Linked DNA regions of Homo sapiens: region 1 is linked to region 2. Evidence: promoter capture Hi-C in 16 types of primary human blood cells and fetal thymus (Javierre and others, 2016). All regions are on one chromosome and are shown on one strand. Each heading gives the region's core, a stretch centred on a gene start or on the middle of the fragment in contact. The rest is flanking DNA. Distances are from core to core; before and after follow the strand shown. Region 1 overlaps CTPS2 (CTP synthase 2). Region 2 holds the start of GRPR (gastrin releasing peptide receptor).

Region 1 (5,111 bases), core at 2,470-4,969, 520 kb before region 2:
AGCCACTTCACTGTGTCACTCAGGTTGGAGTGCAGTGGCGTGAACACAGCTCACTGCAGCCTCAACCTCCATGGGCTCAGGTGATCCTCCTACCTCAGCCTCCCGAGTAGCTGGGACTACAGGCATGTGCCACCATGCCCGGATACATATATATATATTTTGTGTATTTCTTGTAGAAAAATACAACATGGGTTTTGCCATGTTGCCCAGGATGGTCTCCAACTCCTGGGCTCAAATGATCTGCCCGCCTCAGTCTCCCAAACTGCTGGGATTACAGGCGTGAGCCACTGCACCTGGCCTATTTTTTGCATCTGAAGAAATGATTTTAATAACTATATGTCATCTTAGTAACGATATAGGATGAAAGATAACATGTTCTATATAATACACCCATATATTACATATGACGTGTGTATGTATATATAAAAATTATCTCTAAGAAAAACTTTTGGAGCAGTATTGGTTAATAGTCTTCTAGGCTACAAATCTCTTCTTTCAAGGGACAACTTCTGATTAGAATCAGCCCAATGCGGCCGGGCACGGTGGTTCACGCCTATAATCCCAGCACTTTGGGAGGCCGAGGTGGGCGGATCACCTGAGGTCAGGAGTTCGAGACCAGCCTGACCAACATGGAGAAACCTCATCTCTACTAAAAATACAAAAATTAGCCAGGCGTGGTGGTGCATGTTTGTAATTCCAGCTACTCGGGAAACTGAGGCAGGAGAATTGCTTGAACCCGGGAGGTGGAAGTTGCGTTGAGCTGAGATCCTGCCATTACACTCCAGCCTGGGCAATAAGAGCGAAACTTTGTCTCAAAAAAAAAAAAAAAAAAAAAAAAAAAAAGAATGGGCCCAATGCTGCCTATTGTCAGAATTTATACTTGTAGCGAATGCTAGCAAAACTTGAACTTGAAAAACAGCCTGTGCGGCTTCTTAAGTTTTTACTTGCTCACTTCTACCAGTCACATCTCTTGTCTCTTATTTTTCTCTTTACCCATAGACTTAAAAGCATGAGGGTAAACTTGCACTTGGAAGCATGAAAAATCCACTAATAGATACTCTTGTGAAACATTAACTAAAAATATATGGAGACAAGTGATAATTACAGGGTGTGTTCACAAGAGTGCGTTTTGAAACCAGAGAAGGGGGGAAACGACAGGCACAAGGGTGGTAATGGGAAAATGGAGAGGCAAAGGTTATTTATCACCTCACTGTTCAATTGTTTGATCTTTGGACAGGCTTAATTTTTCCTAGGAAAGCCAAGAGTAACATATTTTAAGAGCTCTGGGCACCACAGGCTTCTGTGGGTTATTCTGCTTGAAGGTGACAGCATGCAATGTCTTGAAAAGCACCTTCAGGAAGAGGGTACAGTGTTAGTACCTGGTCCCTGCAAAACAAAATGGGTGTGAAATGCTATCCATGGGTTCTTGTTATCTTTGATCCTGAAGTTTAAAAGAGACCTTGAATACTCAAATGCTGCTTTCCCAGAAAGTATAGCTTGCTTGTCACCTGACCTGGTGTCTACCTTCCCTGGACCTTCAGACAAAGTTCACTTCCAACCTTTGCCTGGGCTGTGAGGCTCACTGTCTTTTGGGTCAGCCTGTGCTCACCTTCAGCAGTTGAGTTCCCAGAGGTCTCCTGACCATAGCCTGTGCTTCTTGAGTGCGTATCTTTACTATGGGCAGTGTGCTGACCTAGGCACCCAACTCCCACGGCCTCCTTAAATCCTTGCTGCAACTTTATGAAGTGGATGCTGTTGGTCCCCCCAGTCTGTAGAGACATCCAAGGACCTGCTCAGGGTCACACTGCTGGTCAGCAGTAGAGCTGGGATTCAAGTTCAGGCCCAGCCTGCACCCTCAACCACCGTGCCACATGCCCCTCCCAGGAGAAGGGCTTCTCTGAGGACAACCATTGTATGTTAACATTAGGACCACAGGTAGTATCACACTTAAGTGTTAGGTTTACATCTGGAGGTATAAGAAGGTTCTTTTTCTGAGGTGTAAGAAAGTTCTTTTCCTGATGAAAATGATATAGGCCTTTGTCTGTTTTGCACTGCTATAACAGAGTACCTGAGACTGGCTAATTTATAAAGAAGAGAAATTTATTTCCTCACAGTTCTGGAGGGTGGCTGGGAAGTCCCAGATCAAGGTGCTGGCATCTGGTGAGGGCCTTCTTGCTGTGTCATCATGTGGTAGAAGGCATCACATGGGTGAGAGAGAGGGAAGGGGACTGAACTCATCCTTTTACCAGGAACCCATTCCCATGATAACTAACCCATTCCAATGATAATGGCATTAATCCATTCATGGGGGCAGAGCCCTTATAACTTAATTGCTTCTTAAAGATTCCACCTCTCAACACTGTTGCACTGAGGATTAAGCTTGCAACACATCAACTTTGGGGAATGCATTCAAACCATAGCAGCTTTCTTTTACTGGTGGGGAAAAAAACAAGTTTAAAAGACTGGAAAAATACATACGTACTTATGGGACTGCTCATTGATTTCCTCATTGTAGATTCCATTCTCACACTACTTGGTGACACAGCAGCGCAGGTTGGAAGCCAGAAATGGGAAATAAACTGCTTCAGGTTAGAGGCAGGACTCTGTCAGGCAGGACTGGGCATAGTGTGTACTCGGCCTCTGAGTAGGGCACCACCCCTCCCTTCCCGTCTGCTGAAGAGACTCACCTGCAACTTGGGACATCCATGAGTATCTCAGACACCCCTCTGCTACTCTGTGGCCCACTGACCCATCCCTTAGTCTCCCCTGTTAGTTTTTAATACACTTAAAACACTGTGAGATTCCAGGCCGGGTACAGTGGCTCATGCCTGTAATCCTAGCACTTTGGGAGGCTGAGGCGTGTGGTTCACAGGGTCAGGAGATCGAGACCATCCTGGCTAACACGGTGAAACCCCGTCTCTACTAAAAATACAAAAAAAAAAAAAAAAGTTAGCCGGGCATGGTGGCGGGCGCCTGTAGTCCCAGCTACTCAGGAGGCTGAGGCAGGAGAATGGCGTGAACCCGGGAGGCGGAGCTTGCAGTGAGCCGAGATCGTGCCACTGCACTCCAGCCTGGGCGACAGAGCAAGACTCCGTCTCAAAAAAACAAAAAACAAAAAACACTGAGAGATTCCATTATTGAGTACTTGATCTGAACTTGACACTGTGTCGAACTCCTCAGTGGAGATGGAAAATAAAAAGATCTAATCCTTGTGCTTGATGAGCCTACACTTAATTTATGAGAGGAGATGCATTTATGAAATAATAGAGGAAGTTAAAGCTGTTTGTAGTAAATAACGGTATTAGATTCCTATGGCTGTTGTAACAAATTACCACAAACACAGTGGCTTAAAACACATATACATTTCTTCTGGAAGTCAGAGATATAAAGTGGGTTGGCAGGGCAGTGTTCCTTCTGGAGGGTGTACGAGAGAATCCATTTCCTTGCTTTTTCCAGCTTCTAGAGGCCACTTGCCCACGGCCATCCTCCATCTTCAAAGCCAGCAGCATAGCATCTTCCAGTCTCTCTGATCTCTGCTTTGTGGTCATATCCCCTTTTCTGACCCTGACCCTCCTGCCTTCCTGTTTTAAGAGCCTTTGTGGTTACAATGGGCCCACCCTGATAATCCAGAATCTTCCCTTCTCAAGAGCCTCAATTTACAGGCTGGGCATGGTGGCTAATTCCTGTAATCCCAGAACTTTGGGAGGCCAAGGCTGGAGGATCATTTGAAGCCAGGAGTTCCAGACCAGCCTGGGCAACATGGCGAAACCCCATCTCTACAAAAAAATACCAAAAAATTAGCCGGGCATGGTGGCATGCACCTGTGGCCCCAGCTACTTGGAAGGCTGAGGTGGGAGGATCACTTGAAGCCAGGAGTCAGAGGCTGTAATGAGCTATGATCATGCCACTGCACCCCAGCCTTGGAGACAGAGTGAGATCCTGTCTCAAAAAAAAAAAAAGATCCTCAACTTAATCACATCTGCAAAGTCCCTTTTGCCACAGATTCATAGGTTTCAGGGACTAGGATGCGGATATCTTTAGGGTAGGGGAGGCATTATTCAGTCTCCTACTATGAGTTACTGAAAATGAATTGATGATGTATAGGTTATTTATTTGGTAGGCTGAGCATAACAATGGCATTAATTATGAGGCAGTAAGGGGAACTGGAGGGGGCCCCTAAAGCATGAGGAATGGGAGGGAGAAGGTATCTTGGGAAAAGTAGAGAAGGAGGTGGTCTGTGTGTAGTATGGTGGTGGGTAGGAGAGTGGAGGTGCCATTGACAATGGCCCCAGCTAGCTGTGGTAGAAGCTACAGGTTCGAATACATGAGGAGGGCATGGCTAGTCTGGGCTCCTGTGTGAGGTAGGACCTGAGAGCCACCCAGAAGAGTTTAGGTTTAGTCTGTAGTGATGGAGGCTGCTGGAGCTAGCAGTGCAACCCAACATTAGGGAAAGTAATGCTGATGTAAAACTGCTTGATACTTTATGTACAATTTGAATATGACTTAGAATCAAAATCAGAATCAGGCTTGAAAACCTAATGAGCAGTAGGAAAGGAATGAATTGGAGAATACTTGTAAAGAATACTAGAGGAGGCCGGGCGTGGTGGCTCATGCCTATAATCCCAGCACTTTGGGAGGCTGAGGTGGGCGGATTGCTTCAGCCCAGGAATTCAAGACCAGCCTGGGCAACATGATGAAACCCCGATGCTACAAAGTGGAAAAAAAAAATGCTAGAGGAAATTGCTGTATGTTGCCTAAGAGTCTGGAAATAGAAATAGCTGCTGGTGAGTAGGCTTTCCCTTTGTCTCCAGGTGAAATATTCAACGATGAGGAACAAAAGGAAAGCTGGGCTTACCAGGGTAGGTCAGGTAGGTCCAGTCAGGAATTTCACTGTTGCTAAGAGAACCTAACTCCTGTAGACTTTGTTGTTTAAGGCACCTGGGATGCTGTAAAGTCTTGAACTCATTACACTTTTATTATGGGCTGCAGAAAACATCAGTAAAGGTTAATTAGTGCCATATTTATCCTTACATGCTGATTTTACATCTCCTAAAGCTTTATCACTTATTGATCCTTTTTTATTTTTCTCATACTATATGGCTCAGTTCCAA
Region 2 (4,925 bases), core at 191-2,690:
CTTGAATAGAGCTTTCTCCAGAAAATTTTAAAAACTCAAATAATGTTTGATTTCATTTAAGAGAGACTTAGGAAAACCGGCATACAATTGTTCTATCACAGAGAGTCAAATTCAAAATCAGCTGTGAGAAAAGTTAAACTGTCTGAGGAAAATGAATTTCAGAGAAATGAGGCTTATTTTCTCCTCTTGGTTATTTCTGAAAGAACGTTTTGAAGAAATCCAGTGGAACTTTCCTGTTCTCTGAGGGGTTTCAATTGCTCCTAAAAAACATTTGCCTGAGGTTTAAACTCTATTGGGTGTGATTGTCTTTCTCACTGGTCAATTAATTTTGCAAGGAGGGAGAAGTTAGGAAAAGGCAATGCTAAATAGATATGTCTCCAGAAAAAGGCACCTCAGTTTTCTGCTTAGAGATTTTTTTTTTCTCATCTGTCTCCTTCTGTCCCCATCATTCACTTTTCTTTCTTAAACCAATATGTTACACTCAAGAAGTCATACCCAGAATAAAAACCTGCCTGGAAGGGAATCCGTGTTTGAGTAAAACTTCCCTTGTGCAATCAGCTCCCTGTCCCGACATGGTAGTTCATTTACCCAGGCGTCTATCACCCTTGGAGAGCATGTAACTTTCAGCCTGTACTTACCTGTCTGCCGAGAGCGCCGTGAGTGTGAAGACAGACACCCCAACAGAGGTAAGCTGTATAAAGGGGATCAGTTTGCAGCCAATCCTGCCAAATAGCCATCTGTCAGCCAGGTACCTGCTGGCATCCACTGGAGCACACGTTATTAGGAGGAGCAGGTCTCCCAAAGCCAGACTGGAAATGAACAGGTTTGGAACGTTTCGCATGGACTTGACTGTACAGAAGATCTTGATCAAAGTGATGTTGCCAATGAGGCCTATCAGAATGATAACCCCATAAACTGCAGGGATGACATAGAGGATCCCCGGGTGGGACCAGTCATCGTTCACGGGGAGATCCGCACTGTGACTGGAGATGTTGCAGTGCATGAAATGGTCCACCTCCAAGTTCAGAAGGAAACAGTCATTTAGAGCCATCTCTAGATTTTTTTTCCCACCTAAAAGTTCCCTTAGATGCTATTTCTTAACTATTGATTTTGCAACCGAGTGAAGATGAAGATAAGATCTATGCCGGGCTCTTTGCCTTCTTTAATAAAAATACTCTGAGTACATATATACTAACTATGGTATTCAAAACTCTCTGTCACTATTTTGACACTGGTGCTGCTCTGGCTTTCACATGACCAGTGCAATACAACTCTAAATTCAATAAGTTAACAACAACAAAACTTAGCCACAAAAAGGCTTAGAATTAAACCCACTCTGCATCAGTTCTTTCTACCTCCATTCTAGTCTGAGTCTCCCTGGCTGCAGTTTACTAAGAACTTTTGGCCTGCTATTTTCCCACAGCGTCTTTCCTGATATTTAGAATCTGGAGGTTTAAAGTGGGTAGAAAAAAACTGCACTGAGAAATCCTCAAATCCTATAGGCAGGATGCTTTGCACGTCACGGGCTTCACCAGCAAACGGCAGCTCCGCTGAGCTGAGGCTCTGAAGAGGAACCAGTGTTACTTATAGACAGAGAATGCCAGCCCCCTGCTGGACACTTCAATCACTGCCCAGTTGCCTGCTTTCTCCAGATGAGAAGCAACCAGCCGACTGCAGTTCCTACCTAGCTTAACAGATACCTTTGGCTTCTCATGTAAGCACATAGCACCTAGGGTAGGTATTTAATAAATGTTGCTAGCATTCTGCAAAGGCACTGAAAATCTTTCTGATACTATCCCCATGAATCCAGATGGGGATTTACATCCCATTTTCTCATTTTTTCTAATTCATTAGAATGACATGTCAATATTGCTATCAAATGAGGTCTGTCTTTGAATTAAACGCACACTGATGCACAGGGTGTCCATGTGTGAGTTATCCCACTCAGTCTTCCCACTGCCTCTTTGAACAGGGACTGATCCTCAGAAACACATGCACAGACTCACACCTTAAACCTTCAGCAACTGACATCTGGAAAAGCCAGAAGCACAATGCACACATGTTCTTTCCTGTAGATTTGCCAAGCCATTCCTATTCTGTTTACCAGGGAGAAATTAAATTGGGAACCAGCTGTATTCTTAACTCTCAATGATCAATAGTCTTTTCCAGAAAAATGGGTCTTTTCTCATCTGATCTAAAAATTTTATGAATCGGCATTTTGATGCAGCTATTTGCATTTTTAATTGAATGTTTGCCATGTTTTATAGCAAATATCCTCTTTATAGCCCTGTGTGGAAAATAAAGAACTATAAAAGCGTGATAGATACAATACTGAGGAATTGAGTGGGTGGTAAAAGAAGTAAGTTATCGTTGAAGGAGTGCTAGAAAAAGCTTAATTGAGGAAGTGCTATTAGAATCAGGCTTAGACCTTTAGCCAACAACTTCTAAATACATTATTAGAGTGCATCTTTATGACGTATGTGAAGCCAGCTCCTCCAGGTACATGACGTGAAGCCAGTCACTAACAGGTGAAGTCTCATTTTTCAGAACCCATAAGGAATAACAAAACTTGCACTTACCATGCCAGGGCCCACAAAGAAAGCCCCCAACTGTGTTGTTATGGACATTTCCAGTGGCAGGTTCCAACACTGAGGCTGCTGCCATGCTTTCTATGTAAATATGAAAGGCTCAGCGCCCCTCTCTGCCAGCAGGAGGGAGACTGATGCTGCATGGCTAGAGGTGGAAGAGCTTCTCGGCAGAGATCAGTAGCACCAGTAACCAGCCAATAGCCATGAGCCCAGTGGTGTTGATTAGTTGCCAGCAATATAGCTTAATGATACAGTACACAGGCTCTGCTTCAATCCTGGCTCCCTCATTTATAATTATGGCAAGTTACTTAGTGTCTTAAGCTTCAGGTTCCTCATCTGCAGGGTGAGGAGAACTTATGAAGTTAGATGAAATGATTCATGTTAAGATTGCATAGTATTTGGCACATAGTAAGTGCTCAATTAATATTAGCACTTATTATTATTATCATTATTAGATTGAGGGGGAAAGGCTTACTTTGGAAAAGCCCAATGAGTTCAGAAGAGTGATTGACCTCAGATCAATAGGCAAGCACTCATACGAGTGAATTAGCAACTCCTTTATTTACTTGAAAAAAATTTATCAAACATCTACCAGTTGCCAGGCACTGAGCAAGAGGCTGAGAAAAATAGCATGAAGATGTGTACTCTCACAGCTCTTTAGACCCCAACCCCTCTCTGGAGTGAAGCAACTACCTTTTCTCCAGAAAAGACGATATCTTTAAAGGTTAAGTGTTGACAAGGTCTTTTGAATGAAGAAAATCATATGTGCCTAGGATCAAGGCATAAAGGAAAGAGCATGACATTGAGCAGAGGGACATCTATAAATCCAGAGGGTCACCCAGATTGGAAGACAGGGGTGGAAAAAGAACAGCGTGAAATGCAGCTAGAAGCAGGTTTGGGTGAGATTGTGATGGATCTTGTATTCTTGCTAAGAAGTTTGGTCTAAAAGGCATATTTTTGGTTCACAAAGAGAACTTCTGGATGTTGTTTCCCTTTATTTCTTTAGACACCCCTGTGTGCTGAGTCAGCCTCACTACTTAAATCTAATTGGGTGGTTAGTGTTTCTTCCAATGTAAGTTAAGGGGATGCTGATAGATATTGATTTCTCATAGCTGGTGTTAGCATTATGTGTTCCACAGCACTATAGATTCTTCTAATGGTATTTTAGGAGTAAAGGTGCGTTGAGGTTTGACATCTAATATTTTCGGGGATCAAGGATGCTTTAAAAAGCTAATTCGGGCCAGGTGCGGTGGCTCACGCATGTAATCCCAGCACTTTGGGAGGCCGAGGCGGGTGGATCATGAGGTCAGGAGATCGAGACCATCCTGGCTAACACAGTGAAACCCCGTCTGTACTAAAAATACAAAAAATTAACCAAGCGTGGTGATGGGCACCTGTAGTCCCAGCTACTTGGGAGGCTGAGGCAGGAGAATGGCGTGAACCCAGGAGGCAGAGCTTGCAGTGAGCCGAGATCGTGCCACTGCACTCCAGCCTGTGCGACAGAGCAAGACTCCCTCTCAAAAAAAAAAAAAAAAAAAAAAAAGCTAATTCCATAATTTCTATGTCATTTCAACTAATTAACTATAATGACTCTTTCCATCCCTACCATTATGTGTCACCTTCCGGCAGAGCCGGAACACCAAACACCAAACGTATTCAGACATTTGCTTAGCTTTTTATTTACTGGTGAACATGAGATGCCTCTGACATGTGAACATGACATGGAACAAATGTAATATAAAATCTCTGTCCCCAGGGAGTCCAATTTCTGAATAGAATTGGAGTATGACTCAGCATCTTTTCTTATGTGTTGGGACAGGGTTGTCACTTCTGTTTCTATTTCAGTCAATAGAGTCACCTTTTTCATCTTTCCAAAAGACTGGATTTTCTGTGGGGCTCTAACATGAGGTGGGCAACAGTGACTTGATAGAATTTAGGAGAACAGGTAGATTCAATGGGACCACAGAGTGTGGAGACAAAGCCTCTTCCCACTGGCTATGAGCAAGGTCAAAAGGGAAGCTTCTGGAGGGAAAGGCTGAATTTGGCTTCAGGCATATTGAGTTTGCTAGATGAACAAGGGAATGTAAGAAAGCCAATGGAAAATGAGAGGTGAAGTCTGAAAGCATAGAAGTAAATAATTAAGAGGACTGGTTGAGAACTAGAACCCTGAATGCCAAATAGTTTAAATGTACAGTAAAAGAATCACAGAGAATCAAGTGAAGTTAGGCTTTGAGAAGAAGATTATGTGGTAAAAGTCAGTGAAGACTAAGCGTGATTTCAATATTAGATTTGTGACAGCACCACGGAGAAGCTGCTCAAAAGACTGCAGCAACTCTT

The links. Contacts are between HindIII fragments. The CHiCAGO score rates a contact against its expected background, and 5 or more counts as called.
Region 1: a contact is called between a fragment that was not itself captured here and the fragment with the promoter of GRPR in region 2, in 2 of 17 cell types (total CD4 T cells and activated CD4 T cells). The highest score is 7.5, in total CD4 T cells.

What each region holds. Positions count from the first base shown.
Region 1 is chrX:16,642,988-16,648,098 of GRCh38, reverse strand. All of the region lies in intron 13 of CTPS2 (CTP synthase 2), which reads left to right. Among named protein-coding and RNA genes, the nearest start is that of S100G, 4.6 kb to the left of the region's middle. The HindIII fragment of the contact is 2,676 bases long and covers 2,382-5,057 here.
Region 2 is chrX:16,120,080-16,125,004 of GRCh38, reverse strand. It overlaps GRPR (gastrin releasing peptide receptor), which reads right to left and starts at 1,440. Exons shown (of 3, transcript NM_005314.3): 1 at 639-1,440. The coding sequence starts at 1,051. RefSeq lists an enhancer at 1,445-1,739. The HindIII fragment of the contact is 8,500 bases long and covers 1-2,393 here.